Linked DNA regions of Homo sapiens: all the other regions are linked to region 1. Evidence: promoter capture Hi-C in 16 types of primary human blood cells and fetal thymus (Javierre and others, 2016). All regions are on one chromosome and are shown on one strand. The core of a region is centred on a gene start or on the middle of the fragment in contact, and the rest is flanking DNA. Distances in the headings are between cores, read along the strand shown. Region 1 holds the start of IMPA2 (inositol monophosphatase 2). Region 2 has its middle 3.9 kb from the start of PTPN2. Region 3 has its middle 2.6 kb from the start of SEH1L. Region 4 overlaps CEP76 (centrosomal protein 76).

What was found. Contacts are between HindIII fragments. The CHiCAGO score rates a contact against its expected background, and 5 or more counts as called.
Region 2: a fragment that was not itself captured here is called in contact with the fragment with the promoter of IMPA2 in region 1 in 1 of 17 cell types (non-activated CD4 T cells); the score reaches 8.3 in non-activated CD4 T cells.
Region 3: a contact is called between a fragment that was not itself captured here and the fragment with the promoter of IMPA2 in region 1, in 4 of 17 cell types (non-activated CD4 T cells, naive CD4 T cells, monocytes and 1 more). The highest score is 10.3, in non-activated CD4 T cells.
Region 4: a fragment that was not itself captured here is called in contact with the fragment with the promoter of IMPA2 in region 1 in 1 of 17 cell types (non-activated CD4 T cells); the score reaches 5.6 in non-activated CD4 T cells.

Annotation. Positions count from the first base shown.
Region 1 is chr18:11,979,987-11,983,038 of GRCh38, forward strand. It overlaps IMPA2 (inositol monophosphatase 2), which reads left to right and starts at 1,521. Exons shown (of 8, transcript NM_014214.3): 1 at 1,521-1,779. The coding sequence starts at 1,684. RefSeq lists silencers at 444-738, 579-2,058. The HindIII fragment of the contact is 12,350 bases long and covers 1-3,052 here.
Region 2 is chr18:12,886,556-12,889,800 of GRCh38, forward strand. No RefSeq gene overlaps it. Among named protein-coding and RNA genes, the nearest start is that of PTPN2, 3.9 kb to the left of the region's middle. The HindIII fragment of the contact is 5,305 bases long and covers 1-3,245 here.
Region 3 is chr18:12,943,814-12,946,955 of GRCh38, forward strand. No RefSeq gene overlaps it. Among named protein-coding and RNA genes, the nearest start is that of SEH1L, 2.6 kb to the right of the region's middle. The HindIII fragment of the contact is 1,374 bases long and covers 828-2,201 here.
Region 4 is chr18:12,698,562-12,701,931 of GRCh38, forward strand. It overlaps CEP76 (centrosomal protein 76), which reads right to left. Exons shown (of 12, transcript NM_024899.4): 2 at 2,397-2,552; 3 at 1,269-1,344; 4 at 418-642. It also overlaps a transcript of PSMG2 not described here. Among named protein-coding and RNA genes, the nearest start is that of CEP76, 2.5 kb to the right of the region's middle. RefSeq lists an enhancer at 3,307-3,370. The HindIII fragment of the contact is 2,094 bases long and covers 587-2,680 here.

The sequences.
Region 1 (3,052 bases), core at 271-2,770:
GGATTAGGGCTCTGGGTGAGGCCAGAGTCCCTAAAGTTGTACCCATATCTGCGTGTTTGTATTTCCTGTTTGTAATTCCTCCTGTTTGTACTTTTTGTCTCTTATACGGTACACTTAAAGTTTCTCCACAAGGTGTTTCAGCATAAAGTACTCAAAAACTAAAAACGTTTAATTTCATTATTAGGTTAAGTGTGTAAAAAATGCCCCATCAAGGTTCTTGTACAAACTCCCATTATTCTCCCAGACTCCGAAGTGGCACTCCAGAATAATTTTACGTGGGTTAGCATCTTTTATAAAACGGGCAGGCAGAGCGGCTTATGAAATTAACCTTGGAAACCACGCGGCCACTCTTTCGGGAAATGCCTCCTATTTATGTTTACATGGGCCAGCAAGAGAATCCAAGGTTGGAAAGGTCATTCCTCACTACAGAGGCTCATCGCAATCACAGTTCCGTCTCCAAATTCGAGTTTTGGGTGTGAAGAGTTTATAAAGTCCAGCCGCTGTCCTCGCAGTGTTTGGGGTTAGCGGAGGGAGAGCTTGTTTGCGACCAAACTTGCCGCGCGGGGCGGCCGCTTGCAGGAACACTGCGGCCTTGTGCGCTCGGCGGTCTGAGCTCCTGCGAGGCCGAGAACGACGCCTAGCGCCCAGCGGCCTCCGCGAACAAAAAGCGACCGGTCGGAAGGTGCTGGCCCAGCCGCCCCTGGCGCTCGAGCCCGAATCCGGCCACAGACCATGAAGGGACGCCCGGCACCACGTGCGCGGGGATCCGCGGACGGGACGCTCCCCGGCACCTCCGGGGCTGGGCCGGCACCGCACGGTCCCACCCAGACAGTAGCTGCCCCGGGCCCCCAAAACAGCCGCTCCTAGCTCCTCCCTCCCAGCTCTGCGGTGGCCCAAGCCGCCCTCCGCGCGCTTGACCCAGAACAGTACGGAGTTCTGCACGAGCCGGGGGTGGGGCCTGTCTCAGCGCGCGGCGGTGGGGCGGGGCTTGGACACGGGCCCGGCTCAACTTGAGGGAGGCGGGGCTCGAGGCTCAGAGGAGTTGGAGCCCGCTCTGCGCGCTGCGGGACGGGGCACGGCGGAGCAGGGTTGGGTCCGCCTCGAGCGGGGAGGGTGATGCTGCACCACAGGGGCGGGGCTGGAGGTAAAGCGCGGAGCGGAGAGGGACCAGGCTCGGCACTGATTTGTGTTCAGGGCTAGCCCAGAGGGGCGGGGCCAGGTACGGGGCGCAGCCGGGAGCGGGAGGGGCGGTGCAGGACGGGGCCGGGCACGGCGCGGGAAGAGGCCAGGAGCAGCAACGGGTGCGGGGCGGGGCCGGGAGCGTCAAGGGGCGGGGAAGAGGGGGGAATGGGCGGGGCCGAGCTCTGCGAGGGGCGAGGTGGGGAATGCAGAGCGGGGCCGGACGCGGGAGCAGGGAGCTGGGCGGGGAGCGGGGCGGGGAGCTGGGCTGGGCTCGGCACGGGGCGGGGCGGAGGGTGGGGAGCGGAAAGCAGGACGCACGGCTCCCGCGGCCCGCTGGCTGCCCTTCCCGCCAGCGCAGGTGTGGGACGGGCGGCGGACTAGGCACAGAGCTGCGGGAGCAGGCACAGGGAGTGTGGAGCCTGGCGGCGGGACGGCGGGATCCGGTGGGAGCCGGAGTCCCGCCGAGGGGGGCTGGAGGTGGAGGGGCCCGGCGAGGCCGCGATGAAGCCGAGCGGCGAGGACCAGGCGGCGCTGGCGGCCGGCCCCTGGGAGGAGTGCTTCCAGGCGGCCGTGCAGCTGGCGCTGCGGGCAGGACAGGTGAGCGCCACGGCTGGGCTCGGAAGTCCGGGCGGAGCAGAAGCGCGTGGGCCTTGGGAGCCGCCTGGAGTGGCGGGGTCCTGGCGCGCAGCCGGCGGGCGCCCAGGGTCCGCACCCGAGGGCGCGGGGCGCGGAGCGGTGAAAGGAGCCTTTGTGCTGGTGTCCTGGACACACCTCCCGCGCCCTTCTCCAACTCCCGGAGCCCTGGCGGCGAGCCCCTCTGCTTTGGAGTTCAGCGGCTAACGTGACCTTTGCGTTTGAGTGAGTGGTCAGAATGTAGAAATCTCTCCAGGGGTAGCGTACGGGGCTGTTGATTTTTAAGGACCTATGAACGGATTCAGCTCGCGGTAGGAAGCCCGGGGCTAAGCCCCAGCCGCGTGGGGATCTGGCTGGGCTGCCGTTTGATTGTCCTGGCTGCAGCATCCTCAACCCAAACTTACTCTGACCCACACCCTGAAAGTGGCTCAGCTCCGCGACGGCCACGGACTCAGAGTTCAGGAGGAACTTGTTACACTGCCCGGAAGGATGAAAACCGAGCCGCAGAGCTACCGAAAACCAGCGAGCAGAGTTTAAAATGGAGTGCAGTTCCTCTCTTCTCTTTTTCATTTTTGTGATTGTTCCTTCCACTTTCCTCAGTACCTTTAGCAGTGCCTGACACACCGACGGTAGTGGTAGGCAAGCGAGTGTTGGTTCTCCCAGGACTGTAAGATGGCTTACTCCATGTTTGTCTCTTAGGATGTGATTGTGGGCCGGGCGCAGTGGCTCACGCCTGTAATCCCAGCACTTTGGGAGGCCGAGGCGGGTGGACCACTTGAGGTCAGGAGTTCGAGACCAGCCTGACCAACATGGTGAAACCCCGTCTCTACTGAAAATACAAAATTAGCTGGGCATGGTGGCGCGTGCCTTAGTTCCAGCTATTTGGGAGGCTGAGGCAGGAGAATCACTTGAACCTGGGAGGCGAAGGTTGCAGTGAGCTGAGATCGCGCCATTGCACACCAGCCTGGGCAACAAGAACAAAACTCCGTCTCAAAAAAAAAAAAAAAAAGTGATTGTTTTCGGGGATTTTAGAGACAGGAGGTGTGCTGAGAGCAGATTGGCCTTTTATATTCAAACATTTGTTTTCTTTTTTGAGGTCTGACAGTCCGAAAATGCTCTACCAGTTTCCCTAGATGTTGAAATCGGACTGTTATCAATCTTAAATTTGAAGTGAGTCGTCATAAAGTGGATAGTGCTTTACCTTGGTGCAAATCCTCTAATCCTGTTTAAAAATTAA
Region 2 (3,245 bases), core at 210-2,709, 910 kb after region 1:
TGTCCCCTCCAAAATTCACGTTGAAACTTTATCCTCATGGTGGCAGTATTAAGAGGTTGGCATTTGGGGAAGTGATTAAGTTATGAGGGTTCTGCTCTCATGAATTTGATTAGTGCCTCATAAAAGGACTGGAGGGAATTAGCTTGGGCCGTTTTTGCCCTTCTGTCCTGCCATGTGAAGGCCCCTAGGTGGCACCATGAGGAATGGGCCTTCAGCAGACACCAAACCTGCTGGTGCCTTGACCTTGGACTTCTCAGCCTTCAGAACTGTGAGAAATAAATTTCTGTTATTTGCAAATGACACAGTTGCAGCTATTTCATTATAGCAGCACAAACAGACTACCCTTATAGCTAGAACTTCAGAGGCACAAGCATATCAAAATACAGCCTAAAAGCCTGGTGTCTACAAGAGCTGTACATTTATAGAGCTGGGCAGACATTTGTTATACAAATTCAGATTGTACAGATTACAGTGAGAATGAACTTCAGTTAAATATATGTAGTTTTTAATAAACTTTTAATTGAAATATACACAAAAATGCACACAAATCACAAGTGCATAGCTCAGGGAGTTTTTACAGAGTGAACATAGCTGTCTATCAATACTCAGGCCAAGAACAGGAAATTTATCTCTCCTCCAGAAAGCCCCTGGAGCGCCATCCTAAATCCTCCCCCTTGAGTAACCAGCCCCAAGCCCTCTAACACCGTAGATTAGTTTTGCCTTTTTTGAACTTTGTTTAATTATATAATATGTGCTTTTTAATGTCTGACTGCTTTTGCTCAAGTTAGTGAGAGTCATCCACGTTGTAGGAATAGTTTGTTCATTCTTGCTGCTAAATAGCATATGATTGTTTGAGTCTACTACCATTTATTTGTTCTGAATTTGGTTGTTTCCAGTTTGGCCTTCTCATGAAGAGAACCATTAAGGACATGTTTGTCCTTGTCTTTTGGTAGACATACACTCATTTCTTGTGGGCATATGTCTAGGAGTGGGATTGCTGGATTGCAGTGTATCTATATGTTCATCATACACTGCTGAACAGTTTTCTGAGTGATTGCACCCGCACTTGAGCTTGGACACAGGATAAGGATGGCCACTATCATCACTTCTGTTCTATACTGTATAGTTATAGCAACAAGTGAGGAAAATTAAGAAGTGGTATAATGATTGGAAAGGATGAAACAAAGTTGATATTATAGCCAATATATTGTACACATAGAAAATCCAAAGTAATCTACAGGTCAACTATTAGATTAATAAGTGAATTTAGGCTAGGTGCAGTGGCTCACACCTGTAATCCGAGCACTTTGGGAAGTCAAAGTGGGAGGATCACTTGAGGCCAGTAGTTGGAGACCAGCCTGGGTAACATAGTGAGACTCCATCTCTAAAAATAAAAAAATTAGAAAAAAAAATTGAATTTAGAGATGTCTTTGAAAACAAAGTCAATATAAGAAAAAGCAGTTGTATTTTTTTTTTTTTTTTTGATGGAGTCACTCTGTCGCCCAGGCTGGAGTGCAGCGGTGCAATCTCAGCTCATTGCAACCTCTGCCTCCTGGGTTCACGCCATTCTCCCGCCTCAGCCTCCCAAGTAGTTGGGAATACAGGTGCCCGCCACCACGCCTGGCTAATTTTTTAGTAGAGATGGGGTTTCACCGTGTTAGCCAGTATAGTCTTGATCTCCTGACCTCGTGATCCGCCCACCTTGGCCTCCCAAAGTGCTGGGATTACAGGTGTGAGCCACTGCGCCCGGCAGAAAAAGCAGTTGTATTTCTACATAGCAACAGCAACTAGAAAATTTTTAAACATTGGAATATAAACTATTCCGAAAAATTCTTAACAAAAGATTAGCAAAACCTCTAGTCTGAAAACCACAACATATCACTCAGAGGAATGAAAGAAGAGCTAAATAAATGGAAGGATATACGATGTAATGTCTTGGAAACTTTAGTATTGTAAAGTTGCCAGTGCTTCTCAAAGTCATGTATGAATTCAGTGCAATCTCAATCAAAATCTCACCATATTTTTGTAGTGGAAATTGACAAGCTGATGCTACCATTTACAAATAAAAATGCAAGGGGCCAAGAATAGCCAAAATAATCTTAAGGAAGAAGAAAATGGAAGTTTTACCTCACCAGATAATAAGATTTACTCTAAAGCTACGATAATTAAAACAGCGTGTTCTTAGTGTGAAGATAGACAAATAGAAGAATGGAACAGAATAGAGTCTAAAGAAGAACTCAAGGGCCAAAAGTAGCCAAGAAGAACAGATCTGGAAGACATTATCCCTCCAGATATCAAGATCTCTTATAAAGATATGTGGTATCGACGCAAGGAAAGGCAAGCTGACCAAGGCAAGCTGACCAGTGGAACTAAACAAAGTCCAGAAACAGGTTCACACATATAGTCATCCGGTGTGTATCTTTGTGTGTGTGTATTTCACAAAGGCTTAAAGTAATGTGTCTTCAATAAATGGTGCTACATCCAAAAGAGCATAACTATATGTTTCCATTTTATATGAAGTTCAAAAATAGACAACAGAATAGTGATTACCTCTGGAGGCAGCTGGGGGCTGCCTCTGGTAGGGTGGGGGTGTTGCCTGGGAAGAAGCATGAGAGAATCTTCAGGGGTCCTGGAAATATTCCATATCTTGATTTGGTTGGTGGTACACTGTTGTGTATAATATACACGTATTTGTACATGTGTGTATAAAATGTCATTGAGCTCCACATTTAAGATTTTTTGGACTTTATTATATGTATGCTAACCTCAATAAAACTAAAAAATTCCTCACTCGAGTGAAAACTTTTTTAATTTAAATAAAAATAAACGGTATTTCATTTAGAAATGGAAACCAGGCACATTATCTTACACAGTATTTCATAAACTACCATCACCTAGTGAATATAGCAAAAGACTGTATATGGCTTCAAAGCCACATAATGCACCTAAATTCTCTAAAATTGCCAGCAATTACAAAGTGATAGATATGAGCCACATAGGATCAAGATGGGGATTCACTCATTCCATATTTTGGAGCCACAAAGTATATCTGCTGCCTAGGTTTGGACCAAATGCAATTAATGTATCAAACAAAAAATCCTAATATTTATTCAGCTTCATCCACAGCCTCCAAAAATGGTTTTAGTAAAAGACCAAATAAATTACGGTTTTTAAAAAAACTTTCGGGGCTGGGCGCGGTGGCTCACGCCTGTAATCCCAGCACTTTGGGAGGCCGAGACGGGCGG
Region 3 (3,142 bases), core at 265-2,764, 960 kb after region 1:
CCTCTTCCTGCCTCAGCCTCTTGAGTAGCTGAAATACAGGCGTGCACCACCACACCTGGCTAATTTGTTTTCTGTAGAGACGAGGGCTCACTATGTTGCCCAGGCTGGTCTTGAACTCCTGAGCTCAAGCAATGCTTCTACTTCGGCCTCACAAAGTGCTGAGATTACAGGCATGAGCCACCATGCCCAGCACAAAATGGCTGATTTTTTAAAGGAAGATATAAATGATCAAAATTGTCTTGACAAAAGGTAAAAAATCTGAAGAGGCCATGAATAAAATAATTTTAAAAGGTAGTTAAAATTAACTATACCTATCATCACCCAAGGCATGAGGCTGATAAAATTTTGTGAACGTCATCTACAAAATCTTCACGGAATCTTCTACAAAATCTTCATAGGAATCTTTCAGTTCCTATGCTATTTAAACTGGCGCAGAGCAGGAAAAAAAATGTGAAAGCTTCTTAACTCATTGTAGGTTATTTATTTATTTATATTTTTGAGATGGAGTCTCGCTCTGTTGCCCAGGCTGGAGTGCAGCGGTGCAATCTCAGCTTACTGCAACCTCTGCCTCCAGGGTTAGAGCGATTCTCCTGCCTCAGCCTCCTGAGTAGCTGAGATTACAGGCGCTCACCAACACGCCCAGCTAATTTTTGTATTTTTAGTAGAAACGGGGTTTCACCATGTTGGCCAGGCTGGTCTTGAACTCCTGACCTCAAGTGATCTGCCCGCCTCAGCCTCCCAAAATGTTGGGATTACAGGTGTGAGCTGCCACGCCCAGCCTTCACTGTAGGTCGTATTCTTTCCAGAATATGAACTGGAAACCTCCAAGCTTGTTTTTCCAGACTCTTATTAGCTCTCTATTTCTAGTTAGGTTCTGAATTGAGAGACAGTAGGGGATTCAGATGCAGGAGGAAGAAGACCTTTTCTCCAATTTGTGGAGGCAGCTCACATAGCTGAGTAGTGGTGGTGGTGGCAATGGGTGAGCCTGGCTTCCTGCTCGGGGGTGATGTGAACAGCAGCAGTAGCAGCAGCACTCAGCCCTAGCTCCAGCAGTACTAGCAGAGGCTCCAGGAACCTCAGCTGTTCAGAGCTTGTGGGCTCCCATGGCTGTTACTCTGTTGGACGCCTGCAGTGTAAGCTGGAGTATTGGCTCCTGGCTTTCTGCCTGCTGGTGGTAAAGGTGCCAATGTCAGCAGCCTCAGAGTCAATGATGGTAGCACTGGGTAAAACTATTTTCCCTTTCACGCTCCCAGCCCAGAGTTTCCCGTAGTTACTAGTCTCTGGGTAATCTCACATGTTCCCTTTTTGCTCTTAATTAACCCCTTGGATATATATGTAACCAGTTTCCTGTGTTAAATTCTCTCTCTCTTTTTTTTTTTTTTTTGAGATAGTGTCTCCCTGCGTTGCCCAGGATGGAGTCCTGTGGCACAATCTCGGTTCCACCACCACTCCTGGGGCATTTTTTTGTATTTTTATTTTGTATTTTTAGTAGAGAAGCGGGTCTCGCCACGTTGCCCAGGCTGGTCTTGAACTCCTGAGCTCAGATAATCTGCCCGTCTCGGCCTCCCAAAGTGCTGGATTACAGGGTAATTTAGCCACCAGGCCTGGCTGACACGACCACTTTGGAAGACAGTTTGTAAGTTTCTTATAAAACCAGGCCAGGCACAGTGGCTCATGCCTGTAATCCAAGCACTTTGGGAGGCCAAGGCAAGAGGATCGCTTGAGCCCAAGAGTTTGAGACCAGCCTGCTCAACATGGTGAAACCCCATCTCTGCAAAAAACAGAAAAATTAGCTGGGTGTGGTGGCACTGTGCCTGTAGTCCCAGCTGCTCGGGAGGCTGAGGTGGGAGGATCATCTGAACCCAGGGAATTTAAAGCTGCAGTGAGCCACGATTGTCTGCCATGACAGAGTGAGACCCTGTCTCAAAAAACAAAACAAAACCCCAAAAAACAAAACTAAACTTACTCTTACAATATGATCCAGCAATCATGCTTCTTGGTATCTACCCAAAGGAGTTGCGAACATGTCCACACAAAAACCTGTACACAGATGTTTGTAGGAGCTTTATTGATAATTGCCCAAACACAGAAACAACCAGAATGCCCTTTAGTTGGGGAATGAATAAACACTGTTACAGCCTGACAATGGAATATTATTCAGCACTAAAAAGAAATGAACTCTCAAGACAAGACATGGAGAAAGCTTAAATGCATATTACTATAAGGAAAGAAGCCAATCTGAAAAGGCTAGCCACTCCAAGATTCCCATTATATGCCATTCTGGAAAAGTCAAAACCATGCAGTCAGTGGAAAGATCAGCGGTTGCCAGGTGTTGTCGGAAGAAAGGGATGAACAGGAGCACTAAGGATTTTCAGGGCAGTCAAACTATTCCGCGTGATACTATAATGGTGGATCCATGTCATTATATATTTGCCAAAACCCACAGAATAAAACACCAAGAGTGAACCCTAATGCAAACTCTGAATTTTGGGTGATAATGATGTGTCAATGTAGGTTCACTGATCATAACAAAGGTACCACTTTGGTATGGGATGTTGACAGTGGAGGATGCTGTGCATGTGTGACAGTAGGGGTACATACGGGAACTCTATTTTCTGCTCAATTTTGCTGTGAACCTGAAAGTGTTCTAAAAACTAAAGTCTATTTTAAAAAATCCACTGTTTCACCTAATTCAACACTTCACTCCCACTCTGATAATCTCTGGCAACCAATGATCTGTTTACTGTCTGTATTTAAATTTAATTAAAACAATTTTTAAACTGTTTTGATATTTTTATAATAATCAATATATTTTGATTGGACTTTTATAGTGAGCACTTTCTTTGGAAATGAGTGTCTTTGACCTTCAAAAAAGTTATAGTTGTTATCAGTTATCATAAGAGGTGGGGCCCACCTCTTAAAGTAGCAATAAAATCTTATTTATGGTTGAAAAAGGTCAGGTCATTGCGCCACTTCTCTTTGCAGGTTTCTGTGCAATCCATCAGGGGACAGCTGGGACTAATCATTTAAAAAACTTTCCAGCCTGCTAATTTTACCATACCTCACATTTTTGTCATTCCTGGCCAAAATCCAAAGGGCAAGTCCCTTCTGCAGCCTCATTTTTTTTTTTTCTGTACTTTCG
Region 4 (3,370 bases), core at 384-2,883, 720 kb after region 1:
AGTGTTGGGATTTCAGCTGTGAGTCACCGTGCTCAGCCTAAACTTCGACTTTTAAAAGTTACATAACATCATCAATCTGGTTATATTTTATAAATGAGAAGGACCATGTCTCATTTTCCACTATATCATCCCAGCACCTGCCTAGCATAACACTATGCACATAATAGGTATTTAAGTGTGTATTACTAAAGAATCAACAATGAAAACAGTCAAAAAATAATATCCAGGGAAAATGAATAGCAAACAGAATATTGCAAGAAGGTGGATAGTAGTTTAAATTGAAAAGAGCAGTGGGAAACAAAATAGAGATTCCTCCATTATAAATCTCTCCTTACAGAAAAAGTCATTATTATTGTTTCACAATAAAACATAACAAAGATTTACTCAATTAAATGACAATTTATTACTGTTTCTTACCCAAGCTTTCTCTGTGTACTTCAAGTAAAAAGCCATCATGAAAATCTGGTTCACAGGCACATGGAACAGGTTTAGAACGAAAACGTTGGTTTCGATAATGTAAACATAAAGTAAACGTTGAACAAACTTGTCCAGGTAAAGGCTCAGGTTCTTGCAGATGTTCCAAGAAAGCTTTTCCACCCAAAACCTGAAGGTAAAGATACCTCCGTGTTGGATCAATATTAGCTGTAAAGTGTAGCAATATATATGAGGAAACTGCCAAATAACTTAAAAGAATGTGATCAAGACATTAGGAAATAAAAACTTGACAGATAAAAACCCAATACCAAAGACTAAAAAAAAAGCAAAAGAGTAACAAATTTATTACTGTATATGCCAGAATCATTTGCACTCTGGGGAGAAGATACACAAAATATGATATTCTTTTCTGAGTTTACATCCAGGCTACTTTCTCCCAGCTGGAAAAGGCATCAGAGCCAATATGTAGTATACTTTTGCTTTTTAACTGCTTATCCAACATTCCTCCACCTTCACAAACCAACTCATATAATTATCAATTCAGCAAGTGTATTTGTCAATTATATTAATATTTAAAAGCAAGGCTGTACAGTTTTTATAAAACATATTATTAAAACACAAGAAACTGGTGATGCTGTTTTTGCTTCTACCGTGCTATACATTAACTCTTCTGATATACTTCATGCAAAACAATCTGTTTTAGCCAACCATAAAATTTTAAGTATTTTATTTTGGGGGGAAAAAATGGAAATGTCTTCTATCAAATACGAAAGACTACACCACATCAATATTTACTATTAACCACAACTAAATTAATGTTAAAATATACATACTTTTTTTTAATGTCGATTGTCTATCAAAACAAATAGGTTGTTTTGGAGAGGAAGGGAGTTCTTGCTCAACACTGTCCTAGAAAGGCAGGAAAAAAAAATCAAAACAAATTAGAAAACAATTATAGGTTAAGGAAATGTCAATAAACATGACTAAGCACTGAACCTAAAGTCAACAGGGTAAGGCCCTTTCAAAGAACCCCTTATTTTCCTAGCCTAATTAAAATAATGAAAATAAAAGCCTGCATAAAAGATGATGTAAACTGATCACTCCTAAAATCAAATGCTAAGGAATTAAACTGTCTTCAAGTAATACTATCCACATAAAGCTAAAAACAAATCCTTAATACCTTCAACAAGGTTAAACTTTCTGTAAACCTTATGTAACAGTTGGCTTATAATTCCACTATGAGCTGATTTTAATAAAGTGTCATCACAGAGTAGAAGCTGTTATTAGGTCAATTTTTATAACAAACGGGTTCATAAACTTCAAAAACCAAAAAAAGGTGCTGTATTAAAATACTTATTCCCTATTGTATTATGAAGTCCATCCAATTTTCACATTATATTACCCAGGTATTGAGGTCACAGTTTCCATTATTGCCTCACTTTCAAATGAAGGCCTACTTACTAATTGTGCACTGAGAGACTATCATCCCATTATTGACCTATTTGTATTAAAAGATTTGAGGACTCTTATGCAGTCAATTATTTTCTTAAAGAAATTTGTAATTTGTTAATCATAGAGAATATAATCCCAAAAGAGTGCTTATTTTAAAAATACGCTTAATCTAAAAAAGTTACAGATCATAATGAAAAAGAACTTTGTTATGGTGAACTAATTGGACTAAAGTATGTATATTCAAATTTACAGACCTAGAAAATAAGAGAAAATTCTGTCACTGTAGAGACAGGAATAAGATATCTAACACAAATTTCATTGATACACAAAACTATTCAGTATATTCAAGGGCAGAGCTAGCCTATACTTGAAACAAGGACACTAGTAAACAGAATGACCTTGAAGTGGTTTTACTAAAACGAAAGGCCCCACATCGGAACCTTATAAGTAGTGTTACGCATTAGTATATACATATATACTCTCATTTATTTCCCTAAAAGATTACTCACAGTAACAAAATTAAGTTCTTTCATCACATCGTCAATGATTCCTCGACGTCTAAGGGCTTTGATCAAATCTTCTGTTGATAAATGCTGTTGATCAGGTGCCAATTCTTCCCGTATAGTCTCAGCAAGGATTTCTCTTATTCTACCATGGACATCCATCTATGTAGAAAACTCATATTACAATTTATAACATCACAAAGCAGTCAAATACTGCTTCTGAAGTTTTAAGGTTCTCCAGCTAACAGTAAATGCACAATTGTTACCACAATTGAATGGGAACAAAGGTAAGCTTTTAAAGAATGAATCTTTTGAGTACAAATTCTAGAAATAGTCTCCACTGGTTATCTGGCACCTTTGTTACCATTTCTCCACAAACAACACTCAACCAAAAGGAATCTTCTGAGAGGGAGTATAGTATAATCAGAAGAACACGGACTGGGAGTAGGCAGATCAAAGTATGATCTTATTACTTTCATACTTTGATCTGCCTAATGATAAGGGAATCTTACCAGCTTTCAACTTAGTAGATGTGTAACCTCAAGCCAACTTATTTACCCTTTATAAATCTGTTTCGTCACCGATAAGAATGGAAAAACCTAGTGTAGTGCCCTCTCACGATAGTGTTGTGAGGATTAAAGATACTAGACAGCACAAAGCCTGGCACACAAGGGCACCATAAATGGTCGCTTTTATCACTTCAGCATCTTGCACTCAGTCGAGCGAGCGCTGCAGAAACTGGAGGTTCTTCTGGAGCTCCGAAATATTAACAAATTCCGTCATTACAAACCCTTTAGTAACTTCTCTTCCATGACTTATTTGAGAATTGCTGATTGAAGCTCCTGGTTCAACTTCGCTGATACCCACATGTTTCAGCGGTAAAGAAACCCTGATATCTGCCGGGCGCGGAGGCTCACGCCTGTAATCCCAGCACTTTAGGAGGCCGAGGCGGCCGGATCACGAAGTCAGGAGTTCGGGAC